2 separate regions of the Homo sapiens genome follow, and region 1 is linked to region 2. Evidence: promoter capture Hi-C in human tissues and cell types (Jung and others, 2019). All regions are on one chromosome and are shown on one strand. The core of a region is centred on a gene start or on the middle of the fragment in contact, and the rest is flanking DNA. Distances in the headings are between cores, read along the strand shown. Region 1 overlaps TPPP (tubulin polymerization promoting protein). Region 2 holds the start of SLC9A3 (solute carrier family 9 member A3).

Region 1 (6,727 bases), core at 2,217-4,716, 130 kb after region 2:
GTGTGTACGCTTGTGTGTGCGCTGTGTGTGCGCGCACGCACCCTGTGTGTGTGCTGTGTGTGCACGCGTTGTGTATGTGCACTTGCTATGTGTGTGCTTGTGTGCTAGCTGTGTGTGTCTGCTAGCTGTGTGTGTGTGTGCTTCTGTGTGTGTGTGTGTGTGCGTGTGGATTGTATCCCTGGGGAAATCAGAGGTGGGACTCTGCTGTCTCTTCCCCGAAGAGGACTTGCTAGGCTTCAGGCTGCCCTCTTGTGTCACCTCTCTGTCCAGTTGTGGTCCTAACAGGAAAATGTGTCATACCAAATTTATTTTCTGTAGGGTTGGGATGGGGTTAATTTGTCATCACGTAATTTATGTATGTAAGAGTATTAGAAGATGTTAATATTAATCCACTTTAAGCTTATAGATGCTTACCTCGTTTGGGTTTCATTGAGCTTCTTGGACCTGTGAGTTCATATTTTTCACCAGATTTGGCAAAGTTGCAGCCACTACTCATATTTCTTGTCTGACCCCGTCTCTCACTTCTTCCTCCCTGTCCCCATCTGGGACTCTAGTTAGCTTTCTGTTAGACTGTGATACTGTCTCTCAGGTCACTAAACGTGATGCTTTTTCATCCTTGTTCTCTCATCCTTTCCTTTAGGTGGTTTTATTGTCCTGTTGCGAGGCTTACTAATCTTTTCTTCCACTTGCCTAATTTGATGTTAAGCTTGTATAGTGAATTTTTTATATCAGAAATTAGGTATATTTTTGTTCTAAAATTCCATTTGAGGCTAGGCGGGGTGGCTCACACCGTAATCCCAGCACTTTGGGAGGCTGAGGCAGGAGGATCACTTGAGGCCAGGAGTTTGAGACCAGCCTGGCCAACATGGCGAAACTCCATCTCTGCTAAAAATGAAAATTAGCTGGGCATGGTGGTGGGCACCTGTAGTCCCAGCTTCTTGGGGGGCTGAGGCAGGAGAATCGTTTGAACCTGGGAGGCGGAGGTTGCAGTGAGCCAAGATTGCAGCACTGCACTCCAGCCTAGACGACAGAGCAAGACTCCGTCTCAAAAAAAAAACAAAAAAACTCCATTTGATTTTTTTCATTAGTTTTATATCCCATTATGTTCACGTTTCCATTAACTGCTTAACCATGTTTTTAACAGGTTTACTAGAAATTCCCAACTGTTCCAAAGTGGTGGTACCCGCAGGCCCGACTGCTAGTTGTGTATGACCACGTCTGCCGGTCCATGTTTTCAGCACCCATTGCCTGAAGTGTTAGCACCTTCACTCCGGTGGGTGTGGGGTAGTGGAGGGAGTGGGGTGGTGGAGGGCGCGGGGTGGCGGAGGGCGCGGGGTGGTGGAACGTGTGGGGTAGACCTCTTTCTGGTTTCATTGGCTTCTCCTTGTTCAGCACCTTCTCATGTGTCTGCGGCTCATTGGGATTTCCTGTTTGTAAAGTACCTATTCAAGTATTTTCCCTACTTTTCTATTGGATGGTCTGTCTCATTTATTTGCAGGTGTTATTTATGATTCTGGGTAGTAGTGCTTTGTGAATTACATTTGCAAATAGCTTTTCTTGTCTTTTTACTTCAATGGTGTCTTTTAAGAGAAATTTTAAACTTTAATATGGCCCAATGTATCAATATTTTCTTTTATGATTAAAGCATTTTGGATCCTAATTTTTAATAATCTTTACTTTGCCTTGATCATAAAGATACTCTGTTACCTTCCAAAGGATTTTATAGTTTTGTATATTTTGGATTTTAGATATAGATTCTACCCAGAATTGATTTTTGCGCCTGTTGTGAAGCTTAAGGATCCAGTTTCATTGTGTTGCAGACATAAGCCCAGTTTTCCCAGTCCCGGCTGCTGAAGATTCCTTTGTCAGGATGATCTCTGTGTCCGTTTCTGCATCTCCTTGTCTGTCTCTGCCAATACCACACACTCTGGGGCGCGTACCTCCATCTTATGTTAGGATGTCTTGGCTGTTTTTGACCCTTTGTGTTTCATACATTTTAGAACTAGCCGGTCGAGTTGGGATTTTGTTTGGGATTGTGTTGAACCTGTAGATCAACTTGGGAATCATTGACGTACTTGCAGTACTGGGTTTTACAAGCTCTGAACATGGTATCTGTCTCTCCAAATGTTAGGGCTCCTTCAGCGGGTGTTCATACAGCCTGATACTTTTCACAGTGGTCTTGTATGTCTTTTGTTACATTTAATCCTAGGTCCTTGTTATTTTGCGATGCTGTTTTTAAAAATGTGCTTGGATTTCATTTTCCTAATTATGTGTTGCCATTTCATGGAAATTCATTTTTGTGTATTAATTTGTATCCGGCAGTCTAGTAATTTTAATCATTTGCCTGTAGCTGTTTCCTCATTTTTAGGCACACAGTCATGTTTTCTATGAGTAATGGGTTTTCTTTCCCATTCCTGTTGTTCTGGATTTTTACTTTATGTTTTTATTTTTGTTTTGTTTTTTGCTTTTCTACACTGGTCGGAACCCCTAGTGCAGTGCTGATTAGAGGTGGTAACAGAGTGGGCATCGTTGTCTTCTTCCTGATATTCAAAGGGGTGATAAATTCTCACCATTTATCCACTCACTTGTAATGGATTTTTTTTGCTTGTTTTAAAGCTTCTTCTATCAATAATTCGCCTCAAGAATGGATGACTTTTATCACTTTTTCTGCAGTGATGGAGATGACCATGATTTTTATCATTTAATATATTGATGTGTTTAACGACCATAATTTGCTTTTGTTAAAAATAAACCTTGAATTTCTGAGATAAGTCCAACTTAATAATTATGGATTTTCTTTTACATACATATTGTTATATTTGGTTTGTTAATATTTTGTTTAGCATTTTGTGGCCCAGCTATACTACCTAGCACCTGTGTTTGGGCCCTGATTTCCTCGTCTGTACAATGGGGAAATAGTGGCTTCCTCACAGGATTGTTGTGAAGGTGAAATGAGTTAGTATGAATAAGACTCTCGGGCAGCATCTGGTGCGTCCTGAGCACTGGGTAGCTGCGTGCTCTAGTACAGTGGTTAGTATCTCTCTTCACGGGTGACAGCCACTTACGATTTTCCTTTGTAATGCTGTTCTTGAAAGGATTCGCATCTTTACACCACCGTAAAATGAGCTAGGTTGTGTATTCTTTCTCCATTCTCTAGGAGAATTTACTTAAGATTATAATTATTTCTTCCATGGATGTTTGATGGAACTTGCTGGTGAAGTCACTTGTGCCTGGAACTTTCTTTGTCAGGAGGTTTGACTACTGATCCAGTATAACTCAGTGTTCCAGGATGTGGCAGAACCGTTCACACAGACCATCCTTATGTCCCCCCTGCCTTTACGCTGCATATCCCTGAGTTGGGCTGGGGCCGTGTGACTACTGAGCAACAGCCTGTGTGTGGGACTGAGGTGAGTCATTTCAGGGCCAGAGCAGCGGGAGCTGGTGCGTCACTGTGATAGCTTCCCTGCCAGTGACCTGGGCAGCTGCATCACAGGATTAGGAAGTCTGTTTGTCTTCTGTTAGAAGAGATCTCTTGTTATTCCTGAAGTTGGACGTTGTGTGAGTAATACATTTTGTGTGTCCAGCCACTGAAGTGTTAGGGGTTTTCTTTTGTAGCTGGCAGTGACTTCCCCTAAGTCACAGGGCTGAGCAGGCTTTCCATTTCTTTTCGAGTTAGTTTTTGTAAGTTATGTGTCTCTAAGAATTGGTCCATATTGTCTTAATTTTCCATTTTGGGGGGTATAACACACATAATTTGAATGGCTTCAACATTTGAAGTTGTGTGTGTCCCTGTGGCAGAGATGTAGGGACAGTTGTGTCCCTTCAAGCGAGACCTTGCCATCCAGGGGCAGGGAGTACAGGGGTAGAGACCATCTCCAGCCACCATGCTGTCAGGCTGTGCCTGGGCTCTGGAGCTGAGGACACACTCATCCAGGCAGCTGCAGCCAGTGTCCAAGCAGGCAGGGCCTGGGCCTAATGCGAACCACAGGGAGCTCCCTAGCAGGTCATCTCCAGAGCCTCCCTGAGGCCTCCCGGCCTCCTCCCCTTGCTGCTGTTCAGGGGCATTCCTCACCAGTGAGCCTCTTGTGATACAAAGGCCACCTCAGCATCTGCCTCCCGGGGACTCAGCCCATTCTTGGCCATTCTTCATATTCGTTATTTGAACTTTCTCTTCAGTCCTTTCAAAGAAACACCCTTTGCCTCCATTTTCTTTTCAATTTCTGATCTGATCTATCATTAGCCATGCTGAAATTACAAATAAATATGGGTTAAAATATTATTTTATCAATTTCCCTGTTCTGTGTTTCTTTCTCTTGTTTTATCAGCAAAGCTGATTTTTTTTTTTTTTTTTTTTTTTTTTTTTTTTTTTTTTTTTGAGATGGAGTCTCGCTCTATTGCCCAGGCTGGAGTGCAGTGGCGTGATCTCGGCTCACTGCAAGCTCCGCCTCCCGGGTTCACGCCATTCTCCTGCCTCAGCCTCCCGAGTAGCTGGGACTACAGGCGCCCGCCACCACGCCTGGCTAATTTTTTGTATTTTTAGCAGAGACAGGGTTTCACTGTGTTAGCCAGGATGGTCTCAATCTCCTGACCTTGTGATCTGCCCGCCTCGGCCTCCCAAAGTGCTGGGACTACAGGTGTGAGCCACCGCGCCCGGCCTCAGCGAAGCTGATTGATCCACCATCTCATTAGTTTAAATCTGCCATCTCATTTTGTGCTGTTTGTTCTATTCATGGTTTTTTCCCTCTTCACTTTTGCCACTTTTGGATGATCTCCTGTCATCCCGCATGTCCCTCTGCTCGTTTGGAGACTGTACTCTGCTTCTGTCCCATGCTTATGGCATGTGTGCGTTTAGTCCATGCTCTCACCCACCTCTGGGGTTGGTTCCTGGAGCGCGAGGCGCGCGTCCCTCTCCATGCTCCTGTTCTGCTCACCTGTGGGGGTTCCCAAGTATTTTTATGAAACATTTTAATCTCACAAAGTATTGATATAGCCACTGTTAATTTGGAGTTATTGACCTATTTATTCTCTTTGCTCCACTTTCTTCACAAACCAGACATGCCATTTGAGATCACCTTTGCTTTCTGCATTTAGAATTTCTTTAAATGTCTGCTGGTGGCAAATTCTCTTTTCATTGTCCAAAAATGCCTTTATTGTATCCTCATTTTGGAAAACTGTTTCGCTGGGCTAGTATCTCAGGTTGGCATTTTTTTTATAGCAGCCTGTGATGACATTGTCCTGTTTTGGGGGCTCTGGTGGTGTTCACAGTGTTCATGTCCATTCCCCTTGAATCTAGACCCCACCCAGGGCTACACCAGTGCTAGAGCAGGACTCACACCTGACAGATGGCTGGTCCGCCTGCTCCTCCTTCACGGTCCTCCTGTCTAGATGAGGAAGCGAGAGACTCCCTCGGGAAAAGGCGACACAAGGGCCTTGGCCCTGTGAGCTTCAGCCCAGTGGAGGCACTCAGCACACTCCCCACCTGGGGCCCCTCCAGTACCTATCCCCTGTTATCACCTGTTACAGACACGTGTGCTCTGAGGAACAGAGAAATCCATGTTTTAACACCTTTATTTGTCACTTTACCAACTTGACACACAATGTTAACGACAGCAGACACAGGAGCAGTGTGCACACAGACACGAGCTGTTTCACTACAGGTTTGCAAGCCAGGCTCAACAGCAAGTCCAACAGGCAACACCACACCTCTCACCTGCAGGAGGAACAGCAGGGCCACCCCACCCCGCGGACGTCCGCGGTGAGTGCGGTTTAGACATCAGCAGAAGTGGCTTTCAGAGTCAGAACAGCCATGACGTGGACATCACCCGTCACACTGATAAAGTGATGCACTCAGTACTCCCTAATGTTAATCACACAGTGTAAAAATATATTGCACATATATATATATATATATATATATAAATTTGTTTCCCTTTCTTGAAAAAAACTTAGTACAAACTAGTAGTTACACGATCCCTTTCAAGTTTCTCTTAAGTTGTGCAGATTTCCTTTGTGGTTTGGCTTGGTTTAGTTTTTTAAGAGGTCGAAAGAAAGAAGTAAAGCATCTCGATGTGCCCAGGACTCCCCATCACATGCCCAGGGACAAACGCTGCACCCTGGACCACCAGAGCTCACAAAGTGTTCAGTAGTAAGAGGAGGAAAGATGCAGGTTCAGTGTTTGAAGGACGTTCTAGCCTATTGATAACATCACGGTCCAGCCTCATCTTCCCCCTGTGCCATCCCCTCGTGGTGTGTGCTGTGGGGTGGGAGGGTGGCCAGTGCACGCGTGATTGCCCACAGGAGGAGATGAGCTGGGCCAGTAGAGGGACAGGTAAGTGTCCAGGGCCAAGGCATCTCCATCTCAACTCCTCCCCACTCCACTTGTACAGCAGGAGCCACAGGCCTGTGTGAAAACACAGGACAGGCCCTGTGCCAACAAAACACCATTCACAAAAGCAGGCGGCCGCAGCAGCCCAGGATGGGGGCTGGGGTAGGAGGTGATGCCCACGCAGGGCTGCTGTGGTCAGCCCTGAGCTGGCATCCCTGGGGCCCGGGATGGAGTGGCACCAACAGGCAAGTGGGGCGGCCACAGGACATGATGCCAGCCCAACTCCACCATCTGCGCCCAAACTTGGACAGGATATTAGAAGGTGTAAAAGTAGTCCAGTATAAATATATATCTTCTACAATATTTTAAACATATAATTTGAACTTTAATTTTGGTAACGCT
Region 2 (7,151 bases), core at 291-2,790:
AGGAGGCAGCCAGCCTCAGAGACTCCCCCCCGGCCAGCATCCCAAGCCCCCAGTGGAAAGCCCAGGGAGGACAGCCTGAGCCTGGAGAGCAGGCAGCCCGGCGGGGAGCTGAAAGACACCAGGGCGAGGAGGAGGCTGCGGAGAAGGGAGGAGGCGGGAGGGCTCAGAAGAGCCCTTATGAGACAGAAAGCAAACACACAAGGGGCCTGAAGGGGAGGGGAGACCCTGGCATAAATAGGGCAGGCGGCAGGCGTCACTGAAGGAAAAGGCGCCTTCTCCAATCAAGCCTGCTGGGCGTACCAGGTTCCACCAAGGCCAAGGTCCTCTCAGCTGTTCTCCCCGGAGCCTGTCCCTCCCCTGTCCTGCGTGGGCGCCCCTCCTCGGCCCCAGCATCGAAACCTCCTCTCGCCCCAGTCCAAAGCTGCTCTGGAAACCTGCCGCGGCGCCTGCTGCTCTGATCTTGCTTCTCCTGGCCCCACTCGGGCCCCCTAATCCCCCCTCCACACGAGTGACCACCTCCCTGCCACCCCTGGAGAGACCCTACCCTGTGGACCAACACATGAAACTTTGATCCCCACGAGCTCCTCAGGAAGCTGACCTTCCTGTCACCTTGCCAGGAGCTACCTGCCGTGCCCACATTACTGGTTCATTGGCGCCGGTTAAGAAGAAGAGAAATCTGACCGACCGGGATTTTCTAAAAAAAAAAAAAAAAAAGGAGGCCCGCCAATGGGAACGCTGCGCCTGTAGGGAGGATTCTGCTGGGTTTCATGCGGGTAGCACCGCTTTTCTTTTCTGCCCTTGTAACTCACGAAAAAACGCCATCACTCCAAGGACGTTTCTCTAAAAAGCCTGAGAACCCCGAAGGAAACCCGGCCCCGGGGACTCCCTGGGCGCGAGCAGCCTGCAGTCTGCGGGGCTCGGAGCGGAGGCGGGGCGGAGACCCCACAGGGACCCGGGAGCCGGGAGTCCGGGGCTCCGAGGCTGTGCCCCCGCCGGGGAGGGGAGACCTCGGGACCCGCAGGGGCGGCTTAGCGCGGCCAGAGTCGCTCCCGAGTCTCGCTCTGCTGGACCCGAGAGCCGGACTCTCCCGGGCGGCCGCCGCGCGGCTCCGACCTGATGCGCGCGGCCACAACGAAGCCCCCAGGCCCAGCAGAGGCGGCCGCACACCCCGCGGGCAGATCCGGAGACCCCGGGGCCACTTACCGATCTTGGCCAAGCTGGCCACGAGGATCCAGAGCGCGATGACGTAGGGATCCTGCACGTGGGCCCACTCGAAGGTGACCACCTGGAAGCCCCCGCTCTCGCCGTGCGCGCCGCCGGGCTCCACCTCGACGCCCCCGGCCCGCGCCAGCCCGCCCAGCGCCAGCGCCAGCAGCAGCCCCCGGTCGGGGCCCCGGGCCCCGAGTCCCCACATTGCCGCCTGCTCAGCGCAGGGCTGGGACGCGCATGTCGCGGGGGGTCCCGGCTGGGCTGGGCCGACGCGCGGGGCTGGGACCCGGCGAGGACCCGGCGCGCTCCGGTGCCGGTACCGGCTACAGTCCGATCCCCGCCCGCCGGGGTGGCCTTTAATCCCGCGGCCCCCTCCCGCCCCGGGGCGGAGCCTGCCCGCCCCCGCCGCGCACTCGCGAGCGCAGACACCGCCGCAGCTCCCGGCACGCCCGCCCCGCCCGCGCACGCCCACCCCGCGCTCCCTGGTGCCCACCCTCCCCCGGAGCCCGCGGCCTGGAGGTCCGGGAGGTCGCGGCAAGAGCGAGCCCGGGACTGCGCGGCCGCCTTCCTGGGGCGTGGGGAGCACAGCGCGGGGCAGCGGGACAGGCGGTTCCGCGCAGCTCCTGGGATGCCCGGGCAGCTGTGGGTGCGCTCGCCCCAACCCTCCTTCATAAACGCAGGGCCTGGGGCTGCGCAGACCCCACAGGGCGGCCCAAGGGTGCACAGGGGCCCCAGGTGTGTCTTCACACAGCCCCTCGCTATTGTCTTCAGCAGGAACCTGCATTCCACAGCCGGACCGGCCACTTACCAGAACTCGGGGGCGCCCAGGCCTTGCGTGGTGCGCTGGTAAGTCTCTCTGCCCCTCCCATCGCCAGCCAGCATCCCCCACCCCAGGCTCTGAGATGGGAGCCCAGGGGCCCCCGTGGTCTCCCCTGCCCCATCCCCTGCCTTTAGACCTCCGCCCAAAACAATTCGATACCCCCAGGGCTTCACACGGATGCGGGGCCTCTGCCCACAGCCCGCTCCGGCAGCACTGGCTCTCTTAAGCATCTCAGGCTCCACTGTGCAAACCACACCCCTGTTTTCCTCCAAGCCCACCCTGCAGCCTTCCAGCCCCAGACCTGGGACGCAGGTGGACTTCTTTCGCTCACAAGGTTTCCAAGCTCTTAGCATATCTGCTCTACTTTCAAAATGTGCACAAAACCAGCGGCTTCTGGGAGCCTGCAGCCACCTGCAAAGGCTCCTGCTCGGCCCTCTACCTGCCCCTTCAGTCCCTCCTATTGGGACCCTCCCTCTCAGAGGAAAGGCTCAACGTCTCCCGGGAGCTCAGACCCCAGCCACTGCCTGACCCCCACCCCCATGCACTCCACGGCCCACACCAGCAATCGGCGCCTCTCGGGGCCTTTGCACGCCCTGCTCCCTCTGTTTGGACGGCTCTTGTGTGCTCCCTTCCTCAGCTCCCCAGGGGCTTGGCTCCAATGCCACCTTCTGGTCCCACCCGATACCCACTCAGCTCACAACTGTGGCAGCTAAGCTCCCGCCTCCCCTGCTTACTCGGTTGGCTCCGGGAATCAGCTCACCTCCCAGCCCTGGGGGCTGCTGGCTTTGACCTTGAGCTGTCTGCCCTCACCCTGGGAATGTCTGCTCCACGAGCAAGGGGCTCATGCATACATCCCAGGAGCTTGGAAGATAGCTGGGCACACAATAGCACTCGCAAGATAGTGGCTGAGCGGATGGATGATAGATGGATGGAAGGACAGATAGGTGGACAAAGGGCAGGTGGGCGGTGGGGTGGGTGCAGATGGAGGATGGATGTGTCTTCTGACATCTGAGTGGGGGCTGCGGAGGCCTGAGGAGGACAGTGCTGAGTTCAATGACTTCACCCTGCAAGGGCCCCAGTTTCATGCTAATGGAAGTGGCCCGTGTAGCACAGGGAAGGTGCATTCAGATGGTGCTCGCCTGGTGACTCGGCTGCTGAGTGGCGTGGAGGGAGGGCAGCCCTGGCCTGGGCCACTGCAGGGTCTGGACAGGGCACCGGGGGAGTGGAAGTGTGTGACTGGCCACTAGTATGGTCTTGCGAGGTGGGAGCATCGGAGTCGCTCTTGGCCTGTGTCCCTGCCCCACCTGTCTCTGTCCCCCACTCCACTCCCAGCCTCTTGTCCCAGAGAAAAAGCCAGCAGGACAAGAACAGGATTCCCTCCAGTCCGGAGCTTCCCTGCTCTTTCCTTATGGTTCCTGGGTGGAGCCGTTAGGAACGACGTCCTCTCTGAAGATGTTGCCCTTGCATTCCACAGGAAGGCCAAATTTCCACCAGACCAGTGTGTTCCATGATGCCCACTGGACCTCCGGCCACCCCACCCCCCAACCAGCCTGTCCTAAGAGCCGACAACCTTTCTCCACAAAGCTGTTCAAAGGGCAGAAGAGCAGTGTCACTGCCTGGAAGGACAAATCCAGAACAGACACCAGTGCCAGGCGCTGGCCATCAGGTAGTGTGCTGCCCACACCTCCACTGCCCCCCACAGCAGGAAGGGCTGCCTCATGGAGAATAGAAAGGCAATGAGCCCCTGAAGTGGCGTGGCCAGAACAAGGCACACCCCACTGCCCACGAGTCCTGCCAGGGCACACCCCACTGCCCACGAGTCCCTGCACAGGTGAGAAGTGTGGCTGTTTGGCAGCATCTCAATCTGTGAGCATTTGGAGGATGAAATGCGTCTGCACTCCAAGGTTGCTGGAGGGCTCGGGGCAGACGGGCGCTGCCCCAGCCTGTGATGGGCATGGCCTTGAGGATGCCAGCCTCATGCAGAAGCCAGTCTAGGGGATTATACAGGGTGTGCACACCCACTCCCCTACCCTCGGACTGGAGCCACAAAACCCTCCCTCTAACTGGGTCGTGGTTTTAGGCAGGGCCGTGGCACCCCACCACTGCAGGGGCCACCATCCATATCAGGCAGACTGTATGAACCGTGCCCCTTGGAATTGTACAGTGCACAACCTGCACATCCTCATGGCCAAAAAGACCCAGAGACTTGTGTGTGTGTGTGAGGGGGTCTTGGGAAGTATCCTGAGAACATTCCTGTCCTGTGGGTGGTGACGATCTGATAACTGCCCGACCACTTCCTGCCTCAGGCAGGCACGCATAGCATTCTGGATCCTTCCACCGTGGCCTGGACCCCTTGTGGTCCAGGGACCCCCTGCACGTATGGGGAAGGGGCGTGGCTGTAAAACATTCAAAAATGTGGAAATAATGCAAAAGCCAGTCGGAAAACAACTGTAATCTTATACCCAGCTGCCACAGCATCTGAACTTCAGGATTAAGAAAATAAAACTGAAAACACCTAGTCTGTCACATTAATTTCCTGTCATGAATTCCACATACGGCTTGTGAAAGTGTCTTGTGGATGAAGAGGCGCATCCATTCATACTGTTGTTAACAATATTTAAGAGAAGAAAGTTAAGTTTTTAAGTAACTTCCAATGCTTGAAGCCAGGCAGGAGACAGGCATCACTGCCCACTCTAAGTTTATTTTTCAACCCAAAGTTGTCAGGGGCCAGGTCTTCTTAAGGAAGGTTTTATTCCACTGGGAGCCACACCTGCTGGCCTTCCCTTGGTCCACACCTGCTGTGTGCCAGGCACATCTCAGCTTCAGGCAAGAGGCCCCTCTGGGAGATGCCCTTCCAGGAAAGAGACCACCGCGCCCCCCCGTCATGCCACCTCCCGTCAATGCCACTCTTATTGGTTGTTGGATCCGGGGGATACAAATGTCTTTCTCAAAAGCAGATTAGAGCTCAGCCCTTCCCTTCCCGGGTGGCCTCTGAGGCCTCAGGTGGGACCTTTCCTCTTCTTCAGAGATGGACAGACTCTTGACCAGCCTGGAGCTGGAGGGCCTGCAGGACTTGAGGCCCGCGCTCTGGTCCGTCCTGTCCGTGTTGGGCCTGGGGTCTCCTCACCCGCGGAGACTCACCTTTCCTGGCTCCCTGAGGGCACCAGCCCGGGTTGGAGTCAGACCCCCCCACTGTGACACCCCTGCGGGGGTAGCTCAGGGCCTGTGTCTGAAGCGGCAGCTCCCCCCGTGGGTTGGGTGGGGAGTTCAGGGGCCCCGGGGTTGGGTGGGGAGCTCAGGGGCCCCGGGGTTGGGTGGGGAGCTCAGGGGCCGGGGGCTGCGCCGGGAGGGGCGAAGGGCTGGGGACGGCGCCGCAGGAGAGTCTCTGTGCCCCGCAGTCCACCCCAGGGCAATGGCGCGGGGGACCTGGCAAGGCCCGGCAGGCCCTCCCAGCACCGTCCCCGGCCGGCCCGTCAGTGCCCGTCGGGGTCGCGCGTCCTCCCTTCCGCCCTCGGGGACAGCCCGGCCGGCCACGCCGCCGAACTCGCCATGGGCCTCTCTCCGCATCCGCATGTGCATCCGCAACCGCTTCCGTCCCGCTGAGCGCACGAACCCTCTCGCTCCTGTCCCTCCCGCCCCGCCCGCCCCGCCCGCCCCGGACGCCTCTGCTGCGGTGTCTTAGCGGTCCGCGGACAGGCGACCTCCCCCGTGGACGCCCCTCTCCCGGCCGCCGCCCCGCCCCGCGCCCCGCTCCCCCGCGCCCCTGGGCCGAGACCTCCGGTCGCCTCGCCCCGTCTCCGGCCACGAAAGGCGCTGCGGACCTGGCGGTCACGCGCGAAGCCAGTGGCCTCCCCCCGCCCGGGGCTCCGGGATCCGGGCACCAACAGACCCGGAGGGACCGCGCCGCCCCGGGCAAACCCGCCCACCCCGTTGCCCAACACAACTGGAAGCACTAAAACCGAATCCAACCGTGTGCAGAGACCAGCCCAGCGCTCTGGGAGGCCCAGGCAGAAGGATCACTTGAGGCTGGGAGCTCGAGACCAGCCTGGGCCACATAGTGAGACCCTGTCTCTAAAAAACATAATAAAAAACAGTAGCCGAGTGGTGGCGCTCGCCTGTGGCCCCCGCATTTCGGGAGGGGAAACCCTTGGGAAACGTAGAATAGAAGCAGATTCCTTTAAGCTGATAGGTAGCATCTGTAAGGCCGGCAGGAGCAGGTGCTGGCACTCAGGAAGCCTCCTCTGAAGCAGGAACGTTTGCCACCTGCCCCCACCCTCAGCCTCATCTTTGGAGCAGGTGCTGGCACTCAGGAAGGCTCCTCTGAGGCAGGAACCTCGGCCACCGGCCCCCACCCTCAGCCCCATCTTCAGGATGCAAGACAGCTCCCGCCTGTAGGCAGCACAGAGGTCTTCCTCGCACACTCTCAGAACCGGCAAGAGTTAGCTCAGCAAGGCTGCTGGCTACAAAGCCAACAAGCCACCGTGAACTGGGTTTCTATGCACGAACAACACACTTTTTAGAAAATGAAAGCTAATTTAACAGTACTATTCATGCAGCATCAAAAATATGAAATACCTAGGAAAAAAAAATCTAGCAAGGGGTGTGGCGGAAATTTATAGGATAATTCAACAGTGAAACCAAATGGACATGGAGCTTTCTTTGTGGAAAGGTTTTAAATGATGGATTTAATTAATAAATATTAGGCTGTTTGGACTTTTCTTTTTGTGTCCATTTTGATAAATCATATTTTTTGACTTTTTGTCTTAATTCTGATAAATTGTACTTTTCAAGAAATGTGTTCATTGCATCAAAAATTCATGTTTATTGATGTAAAGCACATAATGTGATTGTAATCTCCCCTGTGTCCATAAGACTCTGCAGTGATGTCTCCCTTTTGTACCTCCTGGCGATGATTTTTGTTTTCTCTTTTTTAATGATCAACATTGCTGGGAGGTTTATCAACTTTATTCATCTTCTCACAGAACCAGATTTTGGTCTTGTTGATTTTCTCTGATTTATATCTGTCTTCTCTTTCATACATTTTACTATGATTTCCTTCCTTCTGCTTTGCCTTTATTTTGATGTCCTTTTTCTAGTTTCTTGAGCTGAAAGCATAGGTCAT

The links. The method cuts DNA at HindIII sites, captures the fragments that hold promoters and counts their contacts. A contact is called where the count stands out against the background at its distance.
Region 1: a contact is called between a fragment that was not itself captured here and the fragment with the promoter of SLC9A3 in region 2, in 7 of the 25 tissues and cell types used here (H1 embryonic stem cells, IMR-90 fibroblasts, bladder and 4 more).

What each region holds. Positions count from the first base shown.
Region 1 is chr5:654,312-661,038 of GRCh38, forward strand. TPPP (tubulin polymerization promoting protein) reads right to left here. Exons shown (of 4, transcript NM_007030.3): 4 at 5,551-6,727. It also overlaps a transcript of CEP72 not described here. Among named protein-coding and RNA genes, the nearest start is that of TPPP, 36 kb to the right of the region's middle. The HindIII fragment of the contact is 7,661 bases long and covers 1-6,727 here.
Region 2 is chr5:522,909-530,059 of GRCh38, forward strand. SLC9A3 (solute carrier family 9 member A3) reads right to left here and starts at 1,541. Exons shown (of 17, transcript NM_004174.4): 1 at 1,204-1,541. The coding sequence starts at 1,414. LOC107986395 (a long non-coding RNA gene) reads left to right here and starts at 1,750. Exons shown (of 2, transcript XR_001742543.1): 1 at 1,750-2,055; 2 at 3,504-4,547. RefSeq lists an enhancer at 3,108-3,740. The HindIII fragment of the contact is 12,710 bases long and covers 1-5,184 here.